Linked DNA regions of Homo sapiens: all the other regions are linked to region 1. The links are contacts of gene promoters, found by promoter capture Hi-C in human tissues and cell types (Jung and others, 2019). All regions are on one chromosome and are shown on one strand. The core of a region is centred on a gene start or on the middle of the fragment in contact, and the rest is flanking DNA. Distances in the headings are between cores, read along the strand shown.

Region 1 (3,327 bases), core at 589-3,088:
TACTGAATTAATAGAAAACTAAATACTTCTCTTAAGCAGCTATGATAACTTAAGAAAGTTTCCAGGGAAGCCGTTTAATGAAAGGAAACAAACAAAAAGATGATTTATTCAGTATCCTGCTCCATTTTTTTGAAAAATTGGAATTCCTACATTCCTTAATTCTTTGTACATCTACACTGTGAAAGCAACACAAACTCAAATGGAGATTGCAGCCCAAATGAACTTAAACCTGCTGTTTAACTTTCTTTTGAAGTTATACATGGAAATGAAACACACCACAGCAACTTTCATGACATCTTGCTAACGAAGTTTGGGTTTTGAAAAATGGAATGACTAGTTGACTAAAAACACACACGCGCGCACACACACACACACACACACACACACAAAACAAGGAGTTTTGAAAATAAGCACTAAGCATCTTTCCAAGGAACTCACTCATTCCAAGAAACTTCGGTTCTAACTCGCAAGCTGGCGGCTGCTGTGAGTGTCCTCTGAATGCAGCCTGGTCAATGTGTCGCCAATCCAGAAAACACACTGCCCTACCTTTGGCCGCGATCTTGCTTTCTCTAAGCATCAAAGGTACCCTCCGCTGTCATTCCTCTGGACGGCCACGCGTGTGGACACGGCCGCGGATGGATGCGTAGGACATTACCAAACAAACCCACACGCTGCACTTTACTTCTTCCCTCCTGGAGTGCCACTAGGGTCCCCGCGAGGAGGGCTGATCGGGTGCGGGGAGGCCGAGTGCACCGGGCGTGTGCTGACCAACTCGGGCCCAGTGACAGTCCTGCGACGAACTTCCACCCTCCCGCGCGGGGCGAGGGGAACGGGCTGCGGGGCCTGCTCCGAGCTCCCGGCTCGATCGGTATCCGCGACCACGACCCCCGGACGCTCTCTTTCAGGTGGGGGTGACAGCGCGCCCCGGGCCCCCGCCGCCCCGGACCCCCTCCTCACCTGTGCTGTCATTCGCCGAGAAACCGGGCGAGCTGAGTTTGGCTCTTTTGGGGTTGGGCGGTCCGTCCAGCAAGTTCTCAGCCATTTTCACCTGCTCGCGAAAACAGCCCCGGGCACGGGCGGCCGGGCCGGCGAGGGCCCGGACGGGGGTCGGGGGCCCTGCCGGCTGCGAGGGAGAGGAGCGAGCGCGGGCCGCGAGCGGGCGGGCGGGCGCCGAGGGAGAGGGAGGGCGCAGGCCGGGTGGGGGAGGCGGCGGCCAAATCTCAGCCACAGCAACAGCGCCCCGCAGCGCTCACCGCCCGCCCCCGGCCGCCGCCGCCGCCGCCGGCCGCGGCCCCCTCATCCCCTGCCCGCCTCCCGAGCGCGACACTCCGCGGTGGGGGCGCCCCGGCGGCCCGGCCGCCCCCCCGGGCCCGGCTGGCAGCGACGGCGCCCGGCCGGGCGGCTCAGGCAGTCCCCGAGAACATGGTGCCGCCGCCGCCGCCGCCTCGCTCCCCCCCCGCGCCCCACTTAATGAATTCGCTCGCGGCCCGACGACGAGGGGGCTCCGGGCTCCGCTCCCGGCCCGCGGCCCGCCGCCGCCGCCGCCGTGAGGAAAAACAATGCGCCGAGCGGGGTCGCCGCCGCCGCCGCGGCCCCCCCACCCCCCGTTCCGCCGCCGCCGCCGCCGCTGCCGCCGCCGCCGCCGCCGGGCTCCGGGAGGCCGAGCCGAGAGGCGAGCGGGGCCGCCGGGGCGGGCGCCGAGGGCCGGGCGGAGCGGGCCGGCCGGGCGGAGCGGGGTGCGCGGGCGGTTGTGGGGCCCGGGACCGGCGGGGCCGAGTAGATCGCGCTCGAAGCCCCGGTCGGGTCCGCGACAAGATGGCGGCTGTTGATTCCTCAATTAAAAAAAAAAGAAAGTTTTTTTTCTTCTCTTTCCAGAGCCTGAACGGGGAGGGGGTGGGGGCGGGGCACGCCGGTGCGTCACCCCCCCGCGGCGTCACCACGCACGGCCCCCGCCCCGCCCCCTCCACCTGCGCCGGCCGTGGCGGAAAGAGCCGAGCGTGCTCGGGCCGAAGGGCTGAAGGCGCGGCCGCCAAGCGTAGGGAAGCTGGCGGCCCGGCGCGGGCCAGGCCTGCGGGGCGCCTGGGCTCCGGGCTGAGCCACAGCTTTTGTTCTGATGGCGACCAGGCGTAGAGGGCCGGGGCTCCGGGCCCCAGCGGGCTCCGGGAGCGGCGGCCTGGCCGCGGGCTGGGCTCTCGGGCGCGGATTCGACGCCAGCCCGGGCCCGCCCGTCCCGCTGGGGCGGCGCTGCGTGTTCCCAGCTCCTCGCGTCCCCTTCCCCAGACCCTCCTAGGTGGCGTCGGTCGGGAACGGTCGGGGCGACCCCAGCCCAGGCCGCGCCACTAGCCTTCGCCGCCGGCCAGGGAAGTGGAATGGCCTCTGCAGGTTACAGACCGCCCTTGGGTCCTGCCGACGAGGTGGGCGGATGGGGAAACTGAGGCGGGGGGCGAGCAACTGCTCCAAAGTGGTCGAGGCAGGAAGTGGCAGGGCCGGGATTCGGGTCCCGCCCTACCTCGTGACACTAGGGAGTGAGGGGGCCTCACGCCTGTTCGCATCCCAAGGCGGCAGGGCAGACACCCTCACCTGTGAGAGCGGGGTGGCGAGGGCCGGCCTGGGCGGAGAAGGGCCCGCGCATCGGGGCTTAAGCCTGGACGCTCAGGCCGCACTCCCCGCCCCAGGCAACTTGCCTGGCGCCTCGCAGGTGCCCCAGACAGGGGTGCGGGCCTGGGGAGTCCCCCACGCGAGACCACAGCCCGCGGGACACTTCTACGAATACCCGAGGTGTTCCCATCCCAGTTAGTTATCTGCCCCTCCAAACTTGCCCGGCTTCCTCATAAAGGTATCAGCAGCTCCACTGTTTCCTAAGCCAGAAACCCGTGAGTCAGCGCGGACTCCTCCCTCTCACCCGCCACGCGCCCCTCTACCCACGGTCTTTACCTGGGAGACTGCTCCTCCCGCACTGTCCCGGTGGCTATGGTGGCAGCTACTCACTTAAGTGTTCTTTGCTCTCCACGTTGCTCCCCACGCAGCACCAGAGTTAACATCCCGAAAAGAGAGGGAGAAAATCTGTTTAAAACAACTCCCTGGCCAGGCGCGGTGGCAGATCACCTGAGGTCAGGAGTTCAAGACCAGCCTGGCCAACATGGTGAAACCCCATCTCTACCAAAAATACAAACATTAGCTGGGCGTGGCGGCGTGCGCCTGTAATCCCAGCTACTCGGGAGGCTGAGATGCGAGAATCACTTGAACTGGGGAGGCCAGTAAGCCGGGATCTCGCCATTGCACTCCATCCTGGGCGACAAGAGTGAAACTCCGTCTCAAAAACAAAAC
Region 2 (3,327 bases), core at 380-2,879, 240 kb after region 1:
AGCCCAAGAGTTGGAGACCAACCCAGACAACAGAGTGAGCCCTGCGCTTTTTTTTTTTTTTAATTTGAGATGAGGCCTTGCTCTGTTGCCCAGGCTGGAGCGCAGTGGCGTGATCTTGGCTCACGGCAACGTCCTCCTCCCAGGCTCAAGTGATCCCTCCACCTCAGCCTCCTGAGCAGCTGGGACCACAGGCAGGCACCACCATGCCTGGCTAATTTTTGTATTTTTAGAGAGATGGCGTTTTGCCATGTCACCTAGGCTGGTCTCAAACTCCTGGATTAAAGCAATCCACCTGCCTTGGCCTCCCAGAGTGCTGGAATTACAGGTATGAGCCACTGCACCCAGCCCAAAAATGTTTTTTAAAAATTAGCTAGGTGTGGTGGCACGCACCTGTGGTCCTAGCTACTGAGAAGGTCCAGGTGGGAAGATCGCTTAACCCCAGGAGTTCAAGGCTGCAGTGAGTTGTGATTCCGCCACTGTATTCCAGCCTGGGCACCCTGTCTCAAAATAAAAAATTAAAGTTAAGGCCAGCGCGGTGGCTCACGCCTGTAATCCCGGCACTTTAGGAGGCCAGGGCGGCTGGATCACGAGGTCAGGAGATCGAGACCATCCTGGCTAACACGGTGAAACCCATCTCTACTAAAAATACAAAAAAATTAGCAGAGCATGGTGGCAGGCGCCTGTAGTCCCAGCTACTTAAGAGGCTGAGGCAGGAGAATGGTGTGAACCCGGGAAGTGGTGATTGCAGTGAGCTGAGATCCCGCCACTGCACTCCAGCCTGGGGAACAGAGTGAGACTCCGTCTCAAAAAAAAAAAAAAAAATTAAAGTTAAAAAAAGAAAAAGAAGAGGAAAAGACACAGAGACATGCAGGGGAGGAGAAGACAGATAAGACAAGACAGAAGACATATAAAGACAGAGGCAGAGATAAGAGTGATGCAGCCACCAGCCACGGAACCCCAAGCGGTCCTGGGAGACTCCAGAGGCTGACAGAGGCAAGGCAGGATCCTGCCCTAGAACCTTCAAAAGAAGCGTGGCTCCACGGACACTTTGATTTCACACTTCTGGCCTCTAGAACCATGAGAAAGCGAAATAAGAGAGATGGGGCCAGGCACAGTGGCTCACGCCTGTAATCCCAGCACTTTGGGAGGCCGAGGCGGGTGGATCATCTCAAGTCAAGAGTCTGAGAGCAGCCTGGCCAACATGGAGAAACCCCATCTCTACTAAAAAGATAAAAATTAGCCAGGCGTGGTGGTCGGCACCCGTAATCTCAGCTACTAGGGAGGCTGAGGCAGGAGAATCACTTGAGCCCGGGAGGCGGAGATTGCAATGAACTGAGATTGCACTACTGCACTCCAGCCTGGGCAACAGAGCAAGACTCTGGCTCAAAAAAAAAAAAAAAGGGAGTAATGGAATTTTCTTGTCTCTACAAGAAAATGAGAAGAACAGCCCAAGAAACCCAGCATCCAAATAATAAAGGGTTTCAGAAAGAAGAGAGAACACAGAAGGGAGAAACTGCTGAGCAACCATTCAAGAAACGTTTTCCTAAATGAAGAATGTGATTGAAAAGGACCAGCAAGTGGCCAACACGATGACTGGAAACAGACCCACACCAAGACACAGCGCAGCGCAACTTCAGAACTACAGAGAGCTACAGGGAGAAGCTCCGGCAAGAAAAAGCAGGTTTCAAACAGAGTGTGGAGAATGAGGATGACACCTAGATGCAACCATCTGGGGATGGGGAAGGGGCGCAGACAGGCATGTAAATCTCCCAGGGTGATTCTCGTAATCACGTGTTGTTTAGAATAATCAGGCCAGGTCATTTTGTCGGGGATCCCACCCCCGTGTCACCATCTGCTGGTATTTTTCCTTGGATTAATTAGTCAGGTTTTCCAGAGAAGACCCTTCAGGCTTGCTGCCACTCAGCTGAGAGGGGCAGAAGGCTGGAAGTCTCAGCCTTCAGTATCAAAACCTTCGCTCAGCAAACCATCCGTAGGGATAGTTTCAATCCTATTGGCGTGCTGCCAACCCTTACCCTGAAGTCCTATGGCAGTCACTTGCAGATGGGGCTGGATCTACCATGATGAACCTGAACTTCCTCGGAAGCATGCTTCTGTAGCCAGCATGGGAGAAACTTGCAGGCTTGTTAGGAAGATGCGTGTTTATTTTAGCCACGGGGTAGTACCAAAATACCATTAACATTACTCAAAAATAAGTTTGCCGGCTGTGGGCGGTGGCTCATGCCTGTAATCTCAGCACTTTGGGAGGCCGAGGAGGGCAGATCGCCTGAGGTCGTTAGTTCAAGACCAACCTGGCCAACATGATGAAACCCCCATGTCTCCTAAAAATAACTAAAAATACAAAAATTAGGGGGGCGTGGTGGTGCACACCTGTAATCCCAGCTACTCAGGAGGCTGAGGCAGGATAATTACTTGAACCTAGGAGGCGAAGGCTGCAGTGAGCCGAGATCACACCTCTGCACTCCAGCCTTGGTGACAAAGGGAGACCCCATCTCAAAAACACATAAAATAAGTTTGTGAGCCAGACAAATATGATCGCAATGCCAATAGATAATAATTTTTTTTCAAACAGAAAAACTCCAGGAGAAGCCAGGCATGGTGGCTCATGCCTGTAATCCCAACACTTTGGGAGGCCGAGGCAGGAGGATTGCTTGATCCCAGGAATTCCAGACCAGCCTGGGCAACATGATGAGATCCTGTCTCTACAAAAAATTTAAAAATCACCTGGTCATGGTGGCATATGCCTGCAGTCTCAGCTGCTCAGGAGGCTGAGGTAGGAGGATCGCTTGAGCCCGGGAGGTAGAGGCTACAGTGAGCTGTGATTGCATCACTGCACTCCAGCCTGGGTGACAGAGCGAGACCTTGTCTCAAAGAATACAAATAAAATCAATAACTAATAAAAGTCTTATTGCTCTCGGTAGCCATAAGCTTACGGTTTTCTAGGAATCATGTTTTCATTTGGAACAGCACCCACGTACTCTCAGACACAGCCATGAGCAGCTATCCAGGAGGAGGAGACAGTGGATCCGCATTCTGTATTCTCTCTGGGTCCCTCCCCATCTTGGGGTGGTGAGGCATGGCTCTTCTTTGGCAATTTATAGTGTTGCTGAGAGACACACACACTGCTGGAATAAATCACTGGGCGTCTATGCTGTGAATTGAGCCCCGAGGAGCGTGTGGTTAATGGACCTTACTTCAACACTCTGGTCTGTCTGAGAGAAGCGTTCTCTCTTCCCAGCATGTAGTGGGTTCCAGGGAGGAGGTGAGCAGGGGCAGGAGGTGGAAGCTGGATGGCTTCCCAGCTTCTCC
Region 3 (3,327 bases), core at 471-2,970, 220 kb after region 1:
GAGTCACTATGCAAATAAGTGCTTTTCTTGCATTATCCCAGTTGATTCTCCCAACGACCCTCTGACAGAGACACCATCATTCCTATAAATTGCAGCGCCCCTAGGTAGCTTGCCCAAAGTCCCACAGTTAGGAAACCATACAACCGAGAATTAAGCCCGAATGTATCAGAAATCAAAATCCAAGCACCCAACCATTCAAGGGTGAGCCCTTCCAAAAAAAATTTACAGAAACAAAGTTGATGGTTGTTTCTTTGTTTGTTTGTTTGTTTTTGAGATGGAGTTTCGCTCTTGTTGCCCAGGCTAGAGAGCAGTGGCATGATCTCAGCTCACCGCAACCTCCGCCTCCTGGATTCAAGCAATTCTCCTACCTCAGCCGCCCGAGTAGCTGGGACCACAGGCATGTGCCACCATGCCTGGCTAATTTTGTGTTTTTAGTAGAGACGGGGTTTCTCCATGTTGGTCAGGCTGGTCTCGAACTCCCGACCTCAGGTGATCCGCCCGCCTCGGCCTCCCAAAGTACTGGGATTACAGGCGTGACTCACTGCGCCCAGCCATGTGTTTGTTTTTTGAGGCAGAGTCTCGCTCTGTCGCCCAGGCTGGAATGCAGTGGTGCCATCTCGGCTCACTGCAGCCTCCGCCTCCCAGGTTCAAGTGATTCTCCTGCCTCAACCTCCTGAGTAGCTGGGATTACAGGTGCCCACCACCACGCCTGGCTAATTATAGTATTTTTAGGAGAGACGGAGCTTCACCGTGTTGGCCAGGCTGGTCTCCAACTCTTGACCTCAGGTGATCCACCCACCTCGGCCTCCCAAAGCGCTGGTATTACAGGCACGAGCCATGGCCAGCTCGAAGTTGATGGTCTTTATCACACACTTTGAACATGAGCAACAAAGATTTACCAGAATCACAAAAGATTTTTAAGGATTTTGTAAGAAAAGGTCAATGTATGAACTAAGGTCACTTGCTATTTCCACAGGCAATATGTAATGGGTGTGACAACTCCAATTGGCGTTGTTTCACACACATGAGAATGCGTGTTTGGGTGGCACATACAAAACCCTCAGTCTTCCCATCTTGCAGCCCAGCTAGCGAAGCAGTACTCAAAGTGTGATCCGCAGATCCCTAGAGGTCCTTGAGGCCTTTGCAAGGCATCTGTGGAGTCTAAACTATTTGCACAATGACACTAAGACAGCATTTGCCTTCTTCAGTGTTGACACTTGCAGTGACAGTGCAGAAGAAGCCATGGGTGAAACTGCTAGTGCCTGAGCAGGTCCCGATGCAGGGAAACCAAACTGCACTAGCCCTCAGCTTGTCCTTCACTACCCCACACTTACGAAAGGAAAGGCAGACAGCTTCACTTAAGAATGTCCCTGATGGGCCGGGCATAGTGGCTCACGCCTGTAATCCCAGCATTTTGTGAGGCCGAGGTAGGGAGATCACCTGAGGTCAGGAGTTCAAGACCAGCCTGGCCAATATGGCGAAACCCCGTCTCTACCATAAAGACAAAAATTAGCCGGGCGTGGTGGCACACATCTGTAAATCCCAGCTACTTGGGAGGCTGAGGCAGGAGAATCACTTGAACCCAGGAGGCGGAGGTTGCAGTGAGCCAAGATCACACCACTGCACTCCAGCCCGGGCGACAGAGCGAGACTCTGTCACAAAAACAGAAAAAAGAAAAAAAAGAATGTCCCAGATGAAGCTGTCAACATGAATGATTGGTTAAATCGCAAGCTTGAGTAGGTGTCTTCTGAATAGTCTGAGTGATGAAATGAGAAGCACGCCTACGACGACGCTGCTGCCCATCAAAGCACAGCGGTCCTGGAGAAAAGCAGCTGTGCAGCTGTTTGGATTGCAAGCTGAACTGGCCACCTTTTTGGTAGCACATTATTTACACGTGACCTACAGACAAACCACGGTCGTTCAGGCTTGAGTACGGGCAGACCATTCCTGGGAATATGAATGAGTCTGTCGCTTCAAGGAAAATAACTGACAGTATTTGCCGCCAATGATAAAAAATTCCAGTTTTCAAGTAGAGTTTTGGAAAACTTACATCAGCCACTGTGATGAACTCAACATCTTCAGACTATTAGACTTTACTGACGTCAACATGTGGAAGAGCTGCATCATTCAAGAGACCAATATTTTCCAAATGACTAGTGCATGACGTTATAAAATCACACCTGGGTAAAAACCCAACAGCATTTAATATAATAGTGTACAAAAAAAGATAATAAAATTTCAGATTCCATATTGCAACTAACATTTAAGAAACTACCACTCAAAATAAAAAATCAGCGGGGTGTGGTGGTGCATGCCTGTAGTCCCAGCTACTTGGTAGGCCAAGGCAGAAGGATCACTTGAGCCCAGGAGGTCAAGGCTGGAGTGAGCTATGGTAGCACCACTGCACTCCAGCCTGGGTGACAGAGTAGGACCCCATCTCAGAAAAAGAAAAAGAAACTACTACTCACTTGTTGAATGTTTCTACAGAATCAAAGAAAAATATCCAGAATCACATAAAAAGGCTATGAAAATGCTCTTCCAACTAAAGCCAGATTTTCTACACATTTTTCAACATATTGCAACAAATTGAATGCCAAAGCGGTTAAGAAAATTCAGCGAACACACTTAAAAGTGTTTTAACACGGTAGATTTCTGTTGTGTACATTTTATCACTCAAAAAACCTCAGCCGTGGGTCGGGCGCAGTGGCTAACATGCTGAAACCCTGTTTCTACTAAAAATACAAAAAATTAGCCGGGTGTGGTGGTGCGTGCCTGTAATCCCAGCTACTCGAGAGGCTGAGGCAGGAGAATCGCTTGAACCCAGGAGGCAGAGGTTGCAGTAAGCCGAGATCGTGCCACTGCACTCCAATGTGGGCAACAAGAGGGAAAAAAATCCACCAAAAAAAAAACAAAAAACTTCAACCGTTTATTAATCCAGACATTAAAGAGATTTGCAAAAATGTATGGCAGTGCCACCCTTCTCATCAAATTTTTTCATTTTACAAAATATAGTTACTTTTATAAAAATGTTACTTACATTAACATGCAATGGGTGAAATGAATTACTATTTTGAAATAAATTTAGAAAAGATTTTTAAGCTTCTCAGTTTGTTTCAATTTCTAATACTGTAAATATCAATAGACAACCTATATAAATAATGCACATAAGCCTGGGAAACATAGGGAGACGTCATCTCTACAAATAATTTTTAAAATTAGGCCGGGCATGGTGGCTCACACCTATAATCCCAGCACTTTGAGAGGCTGAGGCGGGCAGATCACTTGAGGCCAAGATTTTGACACCAGCCTGGCCAACATGGTCAAACA
Region 4 (3,327 bases), core at 828-3,327, 200 kb before region 1:
TCCATCCAGGAGAAACGTCTGGAACAGGCAGCACAATGGACAGAAAGGAGACCGTGGCTGCTGGGACTGGGGGAGGGGCAGTGGGGAAAGGGCTGCTTTTTGGGGTGATGGGATGTTCTGGAATTGATGCGGGGTGGCTGCACAGCTCTGTGGCTGCACTGAACACCATGGCTGCACACTGATGTGGTGAGCCAGCTGGGATGGGCGTTACGCCTCAGTGAACCCTGACCCCTGACCCCGGCTGCCCGGTGCACAGGGGCAGGGCTGTGGTAGAGCTGGGCCCCTGTCTCATCCCCACACCCAGGTCTCATCTCCACAGAGCAGCTCGCCCTGTGACTCTGGGCCGCATCCCCTGGGCTCATCTCTTCTCCGCTGCCCTGAAACGTACAGATTTGTCTCCATGTTTGACCAGTCCCTAGAGGAACTCAGGGCTCACCTGCAAGGTGTTCATCCGCCTTCCATTCAAGTACAAGGGGAAGCTGACGAAGTTGCTGTACTTCGTTACCACATCTGGAAGGGACAAAAGAAAAACCACACTGCATCTACAATGCTTGTGGAAACGCAAGCTTTGCAGCAGCTCCAGGATGAGCGCCAGCCTGCTGGGAAGGGTCCTCCATGCTGTGTACACTTCACAGGTACAGAAACAGGGCACAGTGGGGACACCTGTCCTCCCCCCAGTCTCACGGGGGCAGCAGCGGAGCCCACGTGAGAACCAGAGCTGTGGAGGCCCCGGCTGCTGCGAGACTGCAATGTCAGCTTGTGGCTGGAACATGGCTTTCTGGGCTGACTCCTGGGGGTACTCAGGGCCTCCCTGAGTGTCCAGCAGGACACAAAGAGGGAAGGCCACGCCCACATCCTGGGACAGGACTGCGCCAAACCCCCAGGTGCACTAAAGGCCAAGGGCCACGCAGAGGAAGGAGGAGGAGGTCCGCCTCAGCCAGGCCAGCTTCCTCCCAGTCCCAGCAGGAGCTCGATGCTACGCAGCCCTGGCGGGCAGCCCCCCTCCCAGTCCCGCAGCGGCTCGGCCCTTCACGGCTCTGCCTGTGCACCCTACGTGCAGGTAGAACCAGGGAAAATGCCTGCTGACCTGGTGGCCTCCAGGCCACACATGGATCCCAGAGTGAGCCTGGGCCCGGGCTCCCGCTCACCTCGCACCCGGGCCTCGCTGGAAAACTCCTTGCAGTCGGATTTCAGGTGGATGATGATTTTTGTCCCGGTTCTAACTCCCGAAGCTTCGGCGATTTCAAACACTCCAGAACTAAGGCAGGCAAAGAAAGGAAAAGCCAGGTGGATGTGACACTGGGACATACCCTGCATGGGACTCCAGCGGTTCCCGAGGGTTTCATAGGCAGAGCCCAAACAACACACAACACACCTCAAATGCCCCATTTCTGACCCCAGCGCACCACTCAGGCCATCACATGCCCATCAGGAACGATGAGCCTGTCGCAGGCGGCAGAGTTCTCCTGGTTCCCTCGGGCGGGGGGCGGGGGGGCGGGGGTCCTCCACCGACCCTGGGCTTCGAAGAAGCTTCTGGGCTTACCCCAAAAGCAGGCCTGGGGCACTGTGGGGGACTGGCCCAGCTCCAAATCGGGTGCCAGATGCCCAGGGGCAAAAACAAAGGCCAGGGGGACAGGCGCCCCCTAAGAAGAGCAGAAAACCATCTCCGAAGCACAGGAGGGGGGAATCCCCCGGCAGGGCCATGTTGATGCCTTGGCCTAAGTTTACTCTGAGCCCCGCTCCCATGGAATTAAACAGGAATGTTAGTTTTGGGAGAGTGGGGAGTCAAGCTGAGCACAGTGCACACACTGTGGAGCAGAAATGGCATCACGGAGGGAGGACGCCTCGGCTGGCTGGAAGCGGCTCACCTGCTAAAAAGCCCTCGGAGCCAGGCGTGGTGGCTCACGTCTATAATCCCAGCACTTTGGGAGGCCAAGACGGGCAGATCACCTGAGGTCGGGGTTCGAGACCAGTCTGACCAACATGGAGAAACCCTGTCTCTACTAAAAATACAAAATTAGCTGGGCGTGGTGGCATGCGCCTGTAGTCCCAGCTACTCAGGAGGCTGAGGCAGGCCAATTGCTTGAACCTGGGAGGCGGAGGTGGCAGTGAGCCAAGATTGTGCCATTGCACTCCAGCCTAGGCAACAAGAGTAAAACTCCGTCCCAAAGGAAAAAAAAAAAAAAAAAGCCCCCAGCAGGCTCCTCACCCTATAGAGGCAGAAGTGGGCTGGGGAGACAAAGCCAGGAAATGCCAGGGCTGGGAGGAAGCAGAATGAGCTCTTGCAGAAGGTCGGTCACAGGAGGCTGCATAGTGTCCACCAGGCGACAGGCCAGTCCTGCAGCTCAGCCACTGAGAAAGGAGCTCAGCGCGGGCCGGACCTGCCTTCCCGAGCGCAGTGGTGGTGACCAACCACATGGGACCAGACAGGTGCCATAGGCCACCTGGAGCCACAAAAGTCACTAACTCCCCAAAATGGGAGAGTCAGATTTCATATAAAAAGCCCAGAAAATGCCTGTGTACGTTTTCTGAGTCCATCCCTTTCCAAACTCCATGCTAAGGGCTCCAGCTCAGCTTTGAGCTGCCTGTCAGGCGACATTCGTCACTCACCCATCTGAAAGCCACTGGTAACCCAGGCTCCCCGGGGCTGCCGAGCGGGAATAGACCTCCACTCTGTCAGCCACCATGAAAGCTGAGTAGAAACCCACTCCAAACTGGCCGATGATCTTGCTGCTGGCCTCAGCCTGGTTCTGCAGAGCATCCAGGAAGGCCTGTGGGGCAGAGGCCAGTTAGTGAGGCAGCCTCCCCTCCAGAGAGCAGACACTCCCAACACCGTGGCTCTTCTGCGAGCACCGCTAAGACCCCTTCATCCTGAAAACAGCCACACCGAGTACTTTTCCACCCCATTCTACACGTGAAGAGCTAAGTCACAGAGAGGTGACACATTAGCCCTAGGACAACCAGCTGGCAGCAGTGGGACAAGTGTGTTTTCCATTTGATTCCCAAAGCTCACAGTCCTGCCTGTCCCAGACAGGTGGAGGCCTGTGGGTCACACCTGGGGGTGGGGAAAGAGCAGCTTGAATAAGCTCTTTCCCTTGAATAAGCTCCTTCCATAGGAAGGCCAGGAGTGAGGAGAGGCTCCAAACTGGCTTCCATATTCAAGTCTCCTGGACTCTACACTTTGTGGGAAAAAGAGTAGAAATCACGCGCATGCGTCTGTAAGCACCGCACAGCACTTCATTTTTCTACTATAATACTGCCAAAGGTCCTAAGGCCAAAGTCAAGTAAAATACACACGCCCACTGCCCTGGCCCACGTTGTCCGATG

The links. Contacts are between HindIII fragments. The study calls those that stand out against the background at their distance.
Region 2: a contact is called between a fragment that was not itself captured here and the fragment with the promoter of CREBBP in region 1, in 1 of the 25 tissues and cell types used here (dorsolateral prefrontal cortex).
Region 3: a contact is called between a fragment that was not itself captured here and the fragment with the promoter of CREBBP in region 1, in 2 of the 25 tissues and cell types used here (IMR-90 fibroblasts and aorta).
Region 4: a fragment that was not itself captured here is called in contact with the fragment with the promoter of CREBBP in region 1 in 3 of the 25 tissues and cell types used here (aorta, bladder and lymphoblastoid cells).

What each region holds. Positions count from the first base shown.
Region 1 is chr16:3,878,875-3,882,201 of GRCh38, forward strand. It overlaps CREBBP (CREB binding lysine acetyltransferase), which reads right to left and starts at 1,839. Exons shown (of 31, transcript NM_004380.3): 1 at 958-1,839. The coding sequence starts at 1,042. RefSeq lists silencers at 828-877, 958-1,007, 1,048-1,357, 1,695-1,744, 1,765-2,314 and an enhancer at 1,518-2,094. The HindIII fragment of the contact is 21,091 bases long and covers 1-3,327 here.
Region 2 is chr16:4,121,936-4,125,262 of GRCh38, forward strand. No RefSeq gene overlaps it. Among named protein-coding and RNA genes, the nearest start is that of ADCY9, 7.2 kb to the left of the region's middle. The HindIII fragment of the contact is 7,589 bases long and covers 1-3,327 here.
Region 3 is chr16:4,102,172-4,105,498 of GRCh38, forward strand. The region is part of intron 2 of ADCY9 (adenylate cyclase 9); the gene reads right to left. Among named protein-coding and RNA genes, the nearest start is that of ADCY9, 13 kb to the right of the region's middle. The HindIII fragment of the contact is 4,527 bases long and covers 1-3,327 here.
Region 4 is chr16:3,674,888-3,678,214 of GRCh38, forward strand. TRAP1 (TNF receptor associated protein 1) reads right to left here. Exons shown (of 18, transcript NM_016292.3): 6 at 2,611-2,771; 7 at 1,149-1,258; 8 at 437-510. It also overlaps the pseudogene LOC124903630. Among named protein-coding and RNA genes, the nearest start is that of DNASE1, 22 kb to the left of the region's middle. The HindIII fragment of the contact is 6,931 bases long and covers 1-3,327 here.